2 separate regions of the Homo sapiens genome follow, and region 1 is linked to region 2. The links are contacts of gene promoters, found by promoter capture Hi-C in human tissues and cell types (Jung and others, 2019). All regions are on one chromosome and are shown on one strand. Each heading gives the region's core, a stretch centred on a gene start or on the middle of the fragment in contact. The rest is flanking DNA. Distances are from core to core; before and after follow the strand shown.

Region 1 (4,824 bases), core at 1,831-4,330, 140 kb after region 2:
TACTTTTTTTTTTTTTTTTTTGAGACAGAGTCTTGCTCTTTCACCCAGGCTGGAGTGCAGTGGCAGGATGTCAGCTAACTGCAACCTCCGCCTCCTGAGTTCAAGCAATTCTTGTGCCTCAGCCTCCCAAGTAGCTGGGATTACAGGCATGTGCCACCATGCCTGGCTAATTTTTGTATTTTTAGTGGAGCCTTGCTGTGTTGGCAAGGCTGATCTCGAACTCCTGACCTCAAGTGATCCGTCCACCTTGGCCTCCCAAAGTGTTGAGATTACAGGCGTGAGCCACCGTGTCTGGCTTTTCCCGTATACTTTAAATCATCTTTACTTATAATACCTAGTATAATTTAAATGCTTTGTAAATAGTTATACTTTTTTTTATTTTGTTGTATTGTCATTTATTTGTTTTATTTTTTCCACATATTTTTGATCCATGATTGGTTTAATCTGTGGATGTGGAACCCACAGATACAGAGGGCAGACTGTATCCAGTCAATGGGCAGTCAATAAGACTTTCCTAGAAAAATATTTGTATCTCCTCAAGTGTCTGCCCTGTCAACATTTATCTATTCCCCTAAAGATAAATAATTTGGGATAAGAGTCACTGGGTGCTAGTTTTTTAAAATCACAACTCTACCCCTTTGGGAAATGTTTGCCAAAGCCAGGGATATAACTACGTAATATAACTTCAGTATGTATTACGACCCTGTTTTCCAAACCTCACATTGTTGGACACTGAATCAGTATTTGATATTGAGACTTGCCTAAAAAATGAGGATCTGTGGTCTTCTATTTATTTATTCAACAAATATGTGTCCACCCTATCCCAGGCATTGTGATCAGCACTGGAATAGAGTGGAGCTAATGGTCTAATGCGGAAGACATATTAATACGTGGTTTTAAAAATAATTAACACAGTTGTGGTAAATGCCATAAAGAAATACAGGGTACTATGAGAGCATATAACTGGAAGACCTTACCTGATCATGAGGGTTAGGGCAAGCGTCTTAAAGAAAATACATTTAAACTTAAGTATGAAGGGTGAATAGAGTTAGGCTGGAGGCATCTGGGGCAATCTTCTTAGGCAAGGGTGAGGAACGTGGTTATGTGGGCTTGAGATGTGGGGCAGCAAGGAGGAATGGTGTTTCTTTCTCTCTCTCCCTCTCCTCTCTTCTCTCTCTCTCTCTCTCTCTCTCTCTCTCTCTCACACCCAGGCTGGAGTGCAGTGGCATGATCTTGACTCACTGCAACCTCTGCCCCCTGGGCTTAAACAGTCCTCCCACCTCACCCTCCTGAGTGGCTGGGACCGCAGATGCACACCACCAGGCCCAGCTATTTATTTTTATTTTTATTTTTATTTTATTTTTGGTAGAGACAGGGTCTTGCCATGTTGCCCAGGCTGCTCTCAAACTCCTGAGCTCAAACAGTCCGTCCCACCTCAGCCTCCCAAAGTTCTGGGATTACAGGCATGAGCCAGTGGGTGTTTCTTAATGAATGTTGATTATATTCCGTAACATTTCTGTCCTTCTTTTCATCCTCCCTTCTCTTAACATTTTCTAAAACATGCTTTTAATATTACTATGCTGATTAAGAAACTCTTTTCTTTCTTTAAGAGACAGGGTTGGGGGGTAGGTCTCACTGTTGCCCAGACTGGAGTGCAGTGGCACAATCACAGCTCACTGTAGCCTCGACCTCCTGTGGTCAAGCATTTCTCTCACTTCAGCCTCCTGAGTAGCTGGGACTGCAGGCACCACCACACTTGGCTAATTTTTTAATATTTTGCAGAGATGGGTTCTCACTATGTTGTCCAGGCTGGTTTTGAACTCCTGGGTTCATGCGATCCACCTGCCTTCTGCCTCTGCCTCCCAAAGTGCTGGGATTACAGGCGTGAACCACTGCGCCCAGCCCAGAAAGTCTTAAAAGTTCCTCTTTGGGTACATTATTAGCTCCTTGAAGGCAGATATCTTGCCATTTTTAATTCCTTAAATCGTTAATTTTTAATTCCTTAATTCCTTCATTACAGATATTGGTGGCAATCATACTTTGCCCCCCAGCATGACTTGATTTCAGTTGTAGTACTAAATGGTGGGCAAGGATGGAGTTGTCTATGATTCTCTTTTTACCCTCTGCCTAGGACCTGAATTTTCAGGTTGGCTAGTGAAGGCCCTTTTTTTTTTTTTTTTTTTTTTTTTTTTTTTTGAGATGGAGTCTTGCTCTGTCGTTCAGGCTGGAGTGCGGTGGCGCGATCTCGGCTCACTGCAACCTCCACCTCCCTTGTTCAAGCAATTCCCTTGCCTTAGCCTCCCGTGTGGCTGGGATTATGGGCGCACGCCACCATGCCCGGCTAATTTTTTTATATTTTTAGTAGAGACGGGGTTTCACCATGTTGGCCAGACTGGTCTTGAACCCCTGACCTTAGGCAATCTGCCTGCCTCGGACTCCCAAAGTGCTAGGATTACAGGACTGAGCCACCGCACCTGGCCGAAGGACTTTTTGTAAAAACAAAACAAAACAAAAAAAAAAACAAGCATCTTTTGCAACTCAGTCTGTATGTAGCCCTTATTTTATGAATGTTCTTTATTATATTGATATTTTAAACAAGGCCATAGTCCAGGAGTTTGTTCATGGTAGTGGTTTCATCTGAAGAGTGAGGTCTTTTTGTCAGTTGACAGAGGATGTTTTAGAAATCAGAACCGAAAGGATTGGATCTGAATAGATTGGATGAGGAAGTTTGTCTTGGTGGATTCTGTTACTTAAGTTGTGCCAATCTTTGGGGTTCTGCTGTAGACATCTGAAAAGTGCATGGGGTGCCAGCCTTTCCCCTATCCTCAGCATATAGTAGGCACTCAGATATTTGCTGAATAGGAAAAGTGTGCATGTAAATGAGATAGTGCCTATGTGTTTATAGAACAATCTAGGATCAAAACTGTGTACATTCTAGGCCAGACTGTTTAATTGCATGCATTCTCTCTAGTTTTTTGTTTGTTTCCCCTTAATATTCAGAAAAATCTACTTGAACGTGCAGTCTAGGAAAATCAAGGCAAAGACTTTTGTGTTAGGCTGGACCAATAAGTTGAGCTATGATAACTGAAAAAGGTGGAACTTAGGAGCATCACTTTAGCAGTTAGCTTGGCATTCTTAAACCTTCGGTTATATATGGATGCCTTTTAAAGGAGGAAATTTCTTACATTATCCAAAGTATACAACCAAGAACTTTAGTATGAGAATGCTGCATTAAAAGTTGAATGTAACCATTTAAGTGGTTACTCAAAGCAAACAAAAAATAAAAAAGAAAAACAAGCGGTTACTTGGTACCTGCATGATGGTAAATCCAAACTGGATCCCTGAAATGTGTGTGGTGGTATGATTATTTTTAGAATATCATCTAAAAACACTTAAAAGTTCTCATAGGACCCTCAGATTCTTGACATCTCCCGACCTCTCTAGGTTAGGCGGACTCCACTTTGAAAAACTATGGATAGTTTTCCTCTCCCACCGAGATCTGTAGTACTGAATCTTCAAAGTTCAGCGTTTTTTTTTTGTTTTGTTTTTTTAAAGTATCTAGTATTTAGTTATATGTTTGCCTGGTGTAGGGAAGGAGTACCAAAAGAGAATCTCCATTCCCCTTCTTCCCAAGTTGTCCTCACAGATCCCCCAGTTAGAGAGATCATTTGGGTTAACTTGTCTCTTTGGGGATGCATGGTTGTTAACCAGTCATTCACACCTTATGATCATATATTTTAATGCTAAATCAACATAAATTTACTTCTTCCCCAGAAAATGGAAAATTTTTATGAGGAAACCTCAGATCCTTGAGAGGAAGGCATTCTTGGTAAGGTGGGAGATTCTGACAGGGCAGCTTGTAGGAAAGAAGTTCTTGGGTTCAGGGAAGAGGAGGAAGGTGTTAAACTGTTACTTTTCAATTTTGCCTAGGATCTTGAATGCTCTTGCTGACCGTGCCTGACTTGGGGTTTCAGAATGCCTTCAGAAGTCTCTAAAGTAGCCTACACGTTTTCTAGTTCAGACTATTCCAGCAGTTTCTGTCAATGTTGTTGTATATCTCCTCAGGAAGAGCAAAGTGTAGAGAAATATGACCTTCCTAAGTAAAAAGTAGGTCAGATCAGTAGTGTTGGATAAGCCTCCTTCTGTTGACTCCTTCCTTAGTCTTCTCATTCTCCTTCATAGTGTTTTGTATTGTCACATAGCATGTCACGTAGTAGGTTCTCAGTGCTTGCTAATTCTTATCAAAGAAGGCAGTTTTGGATCATTGACCACAAAATCTGCTCTCCTACTCCCTACTTCTTTTTTGCCTTTTAAGAAACTACGCTTCCTTTTTACTGGTGTCAGGAGCACAGAAGAAAGAACAGCTGGTAAGGAGTAGAGAAGGAGAAAGAAAACTACTTTTTGAAGGTTAGGAGAAATACTGTCCATTGATTTACTTCAGCAACTGCCTGACACATAATAGATATTCACTAATACTTTCTTTGCACCTCATAGCTTAAATGTCTTGAAGAAACAAAAATTGAATGCACAGGATCAAGGCACTAAAGCTTAGATAACACACTCCTGCATCGTTTCCCTGTTTTATCAAGATATCTTTCATCTTTATATCCGGCAATTTAGTGGCAACTCTTCGCTTTCCAACTGCGCACTGAGTCTTTCGGTCTCCTCCCCATTTTCCTAGTCGTCTTCGGTTGTGGATGTTGTAAACTCGACCATCCGTCTCTCAAGGTCTTTGGCTTCAAGGTTTCCCAATGCTCTGGAGCTGTCCAAGCCCCGGTACTCCGGGGTGGAAGACCTCAGATTCATTTGACGGGCTTGTGGAGG
Region 2 (4,627 bases), core at 1,595-4,094:
TGCTGATTTGCAGTGTATTTGACCTCCTTTTCTAAGAGCTCCTGCTTTTTGTTTGGAGCTGCTGAGCAGGGCTTAATGCCTCTCCCACACCTATCCTCCCGAGGGCTCCGGCCTGTACTTAGGTTCTAACATCACCTCACCCTCGGGCCTGCTCAGCTGCCCTCTCCAACGGTGCACCTACCCCTGTAGCCGCCGCCGCCTCCGCCCGCAGTGCAGGCCCCGCCGCCGCCCCCGAAGCCGCCGGCCGCGGCCCAGCCAAGGGTCGCCCAAGCCTCGGAGCAGCCCTGGCCGCCCTCCGCCCCCTCCTGCAGTGAGCGGCCGGCCTGCGGAGAGGGAGCCCGCGACGTCCAGCCGCCCCCACCACCTGCAGAGCGACAGCAGGAAGGTTGGCAGCCACACGGGGAGCACGCCCGCCTCTCCCCGCGGCCCGCGCCCTCACCTGCCGCCCCGCCTCTCCCGCCGCTCCCGGGCGCCTCCGAGCGGTTCTCCAGTTTCTCGGGGGAGGCCTGAGTCCGGCCTCGGTCCCGCGGCCTCAGGTAGGCCCGACCGCCGCCTCCGGCCGCCACCAGCAACGGTTCCAGCTCGCCAGCGCGCACCTGTGGGGCCAGCGGCGTGTTCCAGGAAGCGCCCTCCAGCTGTCCAGGGGCACTGCCACTGGGAGAGGGCTCCCGCCCAGGGGGCCTGGATAAGGGCAGGGGCCCCCAGCCCAGCCCAGGCCAGCCCAGCCCAGCGCAGGGATAGGGGGACCCCAAGGGACGGACGGAGAGCCGGTGCGTGAGCGCCCCTGGGGAGAGGATTGGGACCCCAACGCTGAGCGCCGAAGGGAGCACGTACCCGGAAAACGTAGGTGGCGCCCCCGCCACCCCCGCCACCTCCCGCCCAGCGCCGCGACCCCGGGACCCCTTCGCTCCCATCCATCGCCGCGTGCTCTTCAACGGCTCGAGACTCCCCGAGGCAGACGAGCTGGCTCTCCGGGCTACCCTGCGGGCAGCGGGGGAGGGAATCGGCGGGGCCCGGGAGCCTCCCCTCGCTGTGCTGGTGACCCGGCACCGAGGAAAGCACGCTCCCCCGGCCCCCAGGCAGCCCTCGCCCCCGGCGCCGGCGCCGCCCCATCCCCACTGGCTGCGCTCACTCCGGGACAGGCGTCCTCTCCCTGCTGCCCCACCAGGATGTACAGCGACTCCCCGAGACCGAGGGAGAAGATTGCTGAGACGAAGACGCCATGCGCCCGCGACAGGTGGTTCTTGGCGCCTTTGCCGCCCGCGGCTCCGTAGGCTGAGATCCTGCGGGGAACGGACGGTGAGTCCCCGGCCTTCGGTGCTCAGGCCGGCCGCTCCGGGCAGAAGTTGGCGACAGAGGAGGCTCCAGAATTATTTTTTATCTGAGGGACTTGGAGGCTGCAATCGACTCTGACGGGATGGGAAGGGTAGGTTTGCACACCGAAAAATCAGATATTACACTTATTTCAGGAGGGTTCGTGGAAATGTGGGGAGGCTCAAGCACCCCTTGGCGCCGCCCTGGTTGGGGGCCTTCCGCTCGGTGTAAGAGGTTCCGGGTAAGGGCTAACTCGGTGGCGACTACTGCCACCTTGAAGGGCACTCAAGGTGGACCTCCCCGCGGAATAGTCCAAGACGCAAGTCGGTGCGCACGTGGACTTCGTTACCCTGAGGGTGAAACCTCCAACTAGCAGGTCACTGTCCACCCTACCTCCGCCGTGCACTTACAGATACTGGCCAGGGCCCGGCACGCGCCACAGCTGCACGCCTCTCAGCTGCCCGGCGGCCCCCACGGTCACCACCACGCTGGTCCCCGCGTACGCCCCGTCACATTGTGTCTGTGTGGGCCCATGCCGGCCGCTGGCCCCGCAGGTAGAAAACAGCCAAGACCCCTCGGTGCCTGAGAGCAAGGAGCGAGGCAAGGGTCGTCGAGCCCCTGGCTGGGCCAGAGGGGTCTGGTATGGTGAGCGAAAGAGGAAGGAGGCGTCTAAAGCTCACCCGGAGAATTCAGCGGGGAGGCTGGCTCCAAGATACTAGGCGGGGCGCTGACTTTCGGGTCCCGGGGGCTGGGACTTGCCAGCGGCAGGGGCGAGGACCGCAGAAAAGTCTCCTGGGACCCCGGGCTAGAGCAGAGAATGGCGCCTGAAAGGTGTTGGGAGAAGGCGCAGGACGTTAAGGCGGGTGGAAATAGGATATGAAAGAAAGAGAGAACCCCGCAACAGCTGCCCTTGCGGTCGCGGCCACACCCGTCACCCGGCCCAGCCGCGCTCTCAGCCTGGAAGCCACTACCCGACTCCGGTCGCAGAAGCCCCGCGGGTGCGCGCTGATAGGTCTGCCAGTTTCTCTCCTCGAGCGCCTTTCCCAGTGAATAACTTAGGGGCCGCAATGAATTTGGTCCTGCAGCCTCCCCAATGCTTTCCTCAACTTAGATTGGTGGCCCCGCCCCAAGGCGGTGCTGAGACCCCAAAGAATGTTCCTCCTTCCCAAGCTGCGTGATCCAGACTCTGGGATTCGCACGCACTTGGCGCTTCTCGGCCCGCACTCCAGAAGCACGGACCGGAGAAATTTGGCTGTGAGAGTTCGAGGCCTCTGGAGGAACCACTGACACCTGGCCTGTTGACCGGCCACCCCCAAGCCTAGGAAAGTGCCTCAGGCTGGACGGTCCCCTGACCGCCAGATAGCACTTACCCGCGGCTCCGAACCACACCAGCAGCTGTCCCCAGCAGCCCATCCCTGTTGGGTCCACCCGGCAACAAAAGCCCTTGCGGTCGCGGCCACACCCCTGTCAACCTAAAGTTGACAGCTCATTTTGCCACGGCAGCCCTGGCCACCACTTACAGGGGTGTGCTGCCGCTGGCGAGACACTCCCCGGACCTAAAGCTGGTCTGGCCACGCCCACCTCAGACCCCAGGACGCCAGAGGAGGAAAGGGAGGGGCGTGTGGGCAGCGAGGTCCCTACGCTTCCGGGAGGAGCCTTAAGGAGTCCCCACCCAGGGGTTCTAGTTTCCAGCCGTCAGATGTGCCGCAGCCTGCTGGGAGCTCCGGTAGGTTTGAGGCCGGAGAGGAGGTGCCCCACGCTTAAAGTGGGAGCCACACCTCGGACACCAGGTGGGGGCTTCCAGGTTCCTGAGGACAGGAGCAGTGGAGTGTGCACTTCATTTGTGGCAGTGGTGGTGGTGGTGAGTGTGTGGCATGCGTCACCACACGTGGGAAGTACTCTAAACTGCTCCAAGTAAGGCCTCATTACCTGCCATTACTTGTGCCTTTTAGTGGTGCCTTTGTGACTGCAAGGCTGAACCTCATTGCTACTCCCAGAAACCTGGATCTCTGTGTTTGCCTCATATAATTCCGTTGCCTGTGTTACCCCTGTGCACAGCCTCTCACTGTGATGGGGTGAAAGACTGGACCAGACGTTAGAAGATCCGAGTGTTTTTAGTAGCACTGAAGGTCAATAGATGATAGGTAGGTAGACCGATCGATCGATTGATCTTGAGCACTAGTACTGGCACCTCTGGTCAATGGGTGATGTAGCACAGGCCACAACTGCCCTGAGAGTTTCCCCACCACCTGCAAAATCATATGAAGGGAAATTGCTCTGTAAGGTACCCTACAAATGTGGGAGCCACTCCCTTCAGGTAGTTTTGTGTCTTGAGTCTTCGATCATTTGCTTAAATGATCATTTGCCGGGTGCGGTGGTTCATGCCTGTAATCCTAGCACTTTGGGAGGCTGAGGCGGGCAGATCACCTGAGGTCAGGAGTTCGAGACTAGCTAGACCATCATGGCAAAATCCCGTCTCTACTAAAAATACAAAATCAGACACACGTGGTAGCGCACGCCTGTAATCCCAGCTACTCTGGAGGCTGAGGCAGGAGAATGGCTTGAACCTGGGAGGCAGAGGTTGCAGAGACGAGATCGCACCATTGCACTCCAGCCTGGGCAACAAGAGCAAAGCCCCATCTCAAAAAAAAAAAAAAAAAAAAAATCCTAACTTGAAAGTCTGAGACCTATGTTTAATACAAAATACTTCAAAAGAGAAGTTATAGTAGTTAGCTACTTGGTAAAGTCTGAGTATAATTCAAGGTGTAAACAGAACAGTGATTTTGTAAAAAGTCTGGTCTCAGCCAGGCGTGGTGGCTTACACCTGTAATCCCAGCACTTTGGGAGGCCAAGGGGACGGTGGGGGTGGGGTGGATCACAAGGTCAGGAGTTCAAGACCAGCCTGGCTAAGATGGTGAAACCCCGTCTCTACTAAAAATACAAAAATTAGCCGTGCGTGGTGGCAGGTGCCTGTAATCCCAGCTACTTGGGAGGCTGAGGCAGAGAATTGCTTGAACCTGGAAGGCAGAGGTTGCAGTGAGCCGAGATTGCACCACTACACTCCAGCCTGGGTGACAGAGTGAGACTCCATCTCAAAAAAAACAAAAAACAAAAAAACCCTGGTCTCTATGCCCTACTTAACACTAGATATCACACTATGAGATCACAGAATTTACCTTGCAAAGTCTCTTTAAGCCACTGCTCTTCAAATTGTGGTTGTGTGGTTTGTTCTGAACATCAGCATCAGTATTACCTGGGAACTTGTTAGAAATGCAGATTCTTGGGTTTCACCCCAGATGTACTGAATCAGCAG

What was found. Contacts are between HindIII fragments. The study calls those that stand out against the background at their distance.
Region 1: a fragment that was not itself captured here is called in contact with the fragment with the promoter of LTK in region 2 in 1 of the 25 tissues and cell types used here (IMR-90 fibroblasts).

What each region holds. Positions count from the first base shown.
Region 1 is chr15:41,655,176-41,659,999 of GRCh38, forward strand. It overlaps a transcript of MGA not described here. Among named protein-coding and RNA genes, the nearest start is that of MGA, 2.8 kb to the right of the region's middle. The HindIII fragment of the contact is 6,605 bases long and covers 1-4,824 here.
Region 2 is chr15:41,510,983-41,515,609 of GRCh38, forward strand. It overlaps LTK (leukocyte receptor tyrosine kinase), which reads right to left and starts at 2,845. Exons shown (of 20, transcript NM_002344.6): 1 at 2,685-2,845; 2 at 1,995-2,138; 3 at 1,725-1,896; 4 at 1,133-1,283; 5 at 835-981; 6 at 440-596; 7 at 182-364. The coding sequence starts at 2,727. RefSeq lists an enhancer at 1,677-2,424 and a silencer at 2,131-2,210. The HindIII fragment of the contact is 13,334 bases long and covers 1-4,627 here.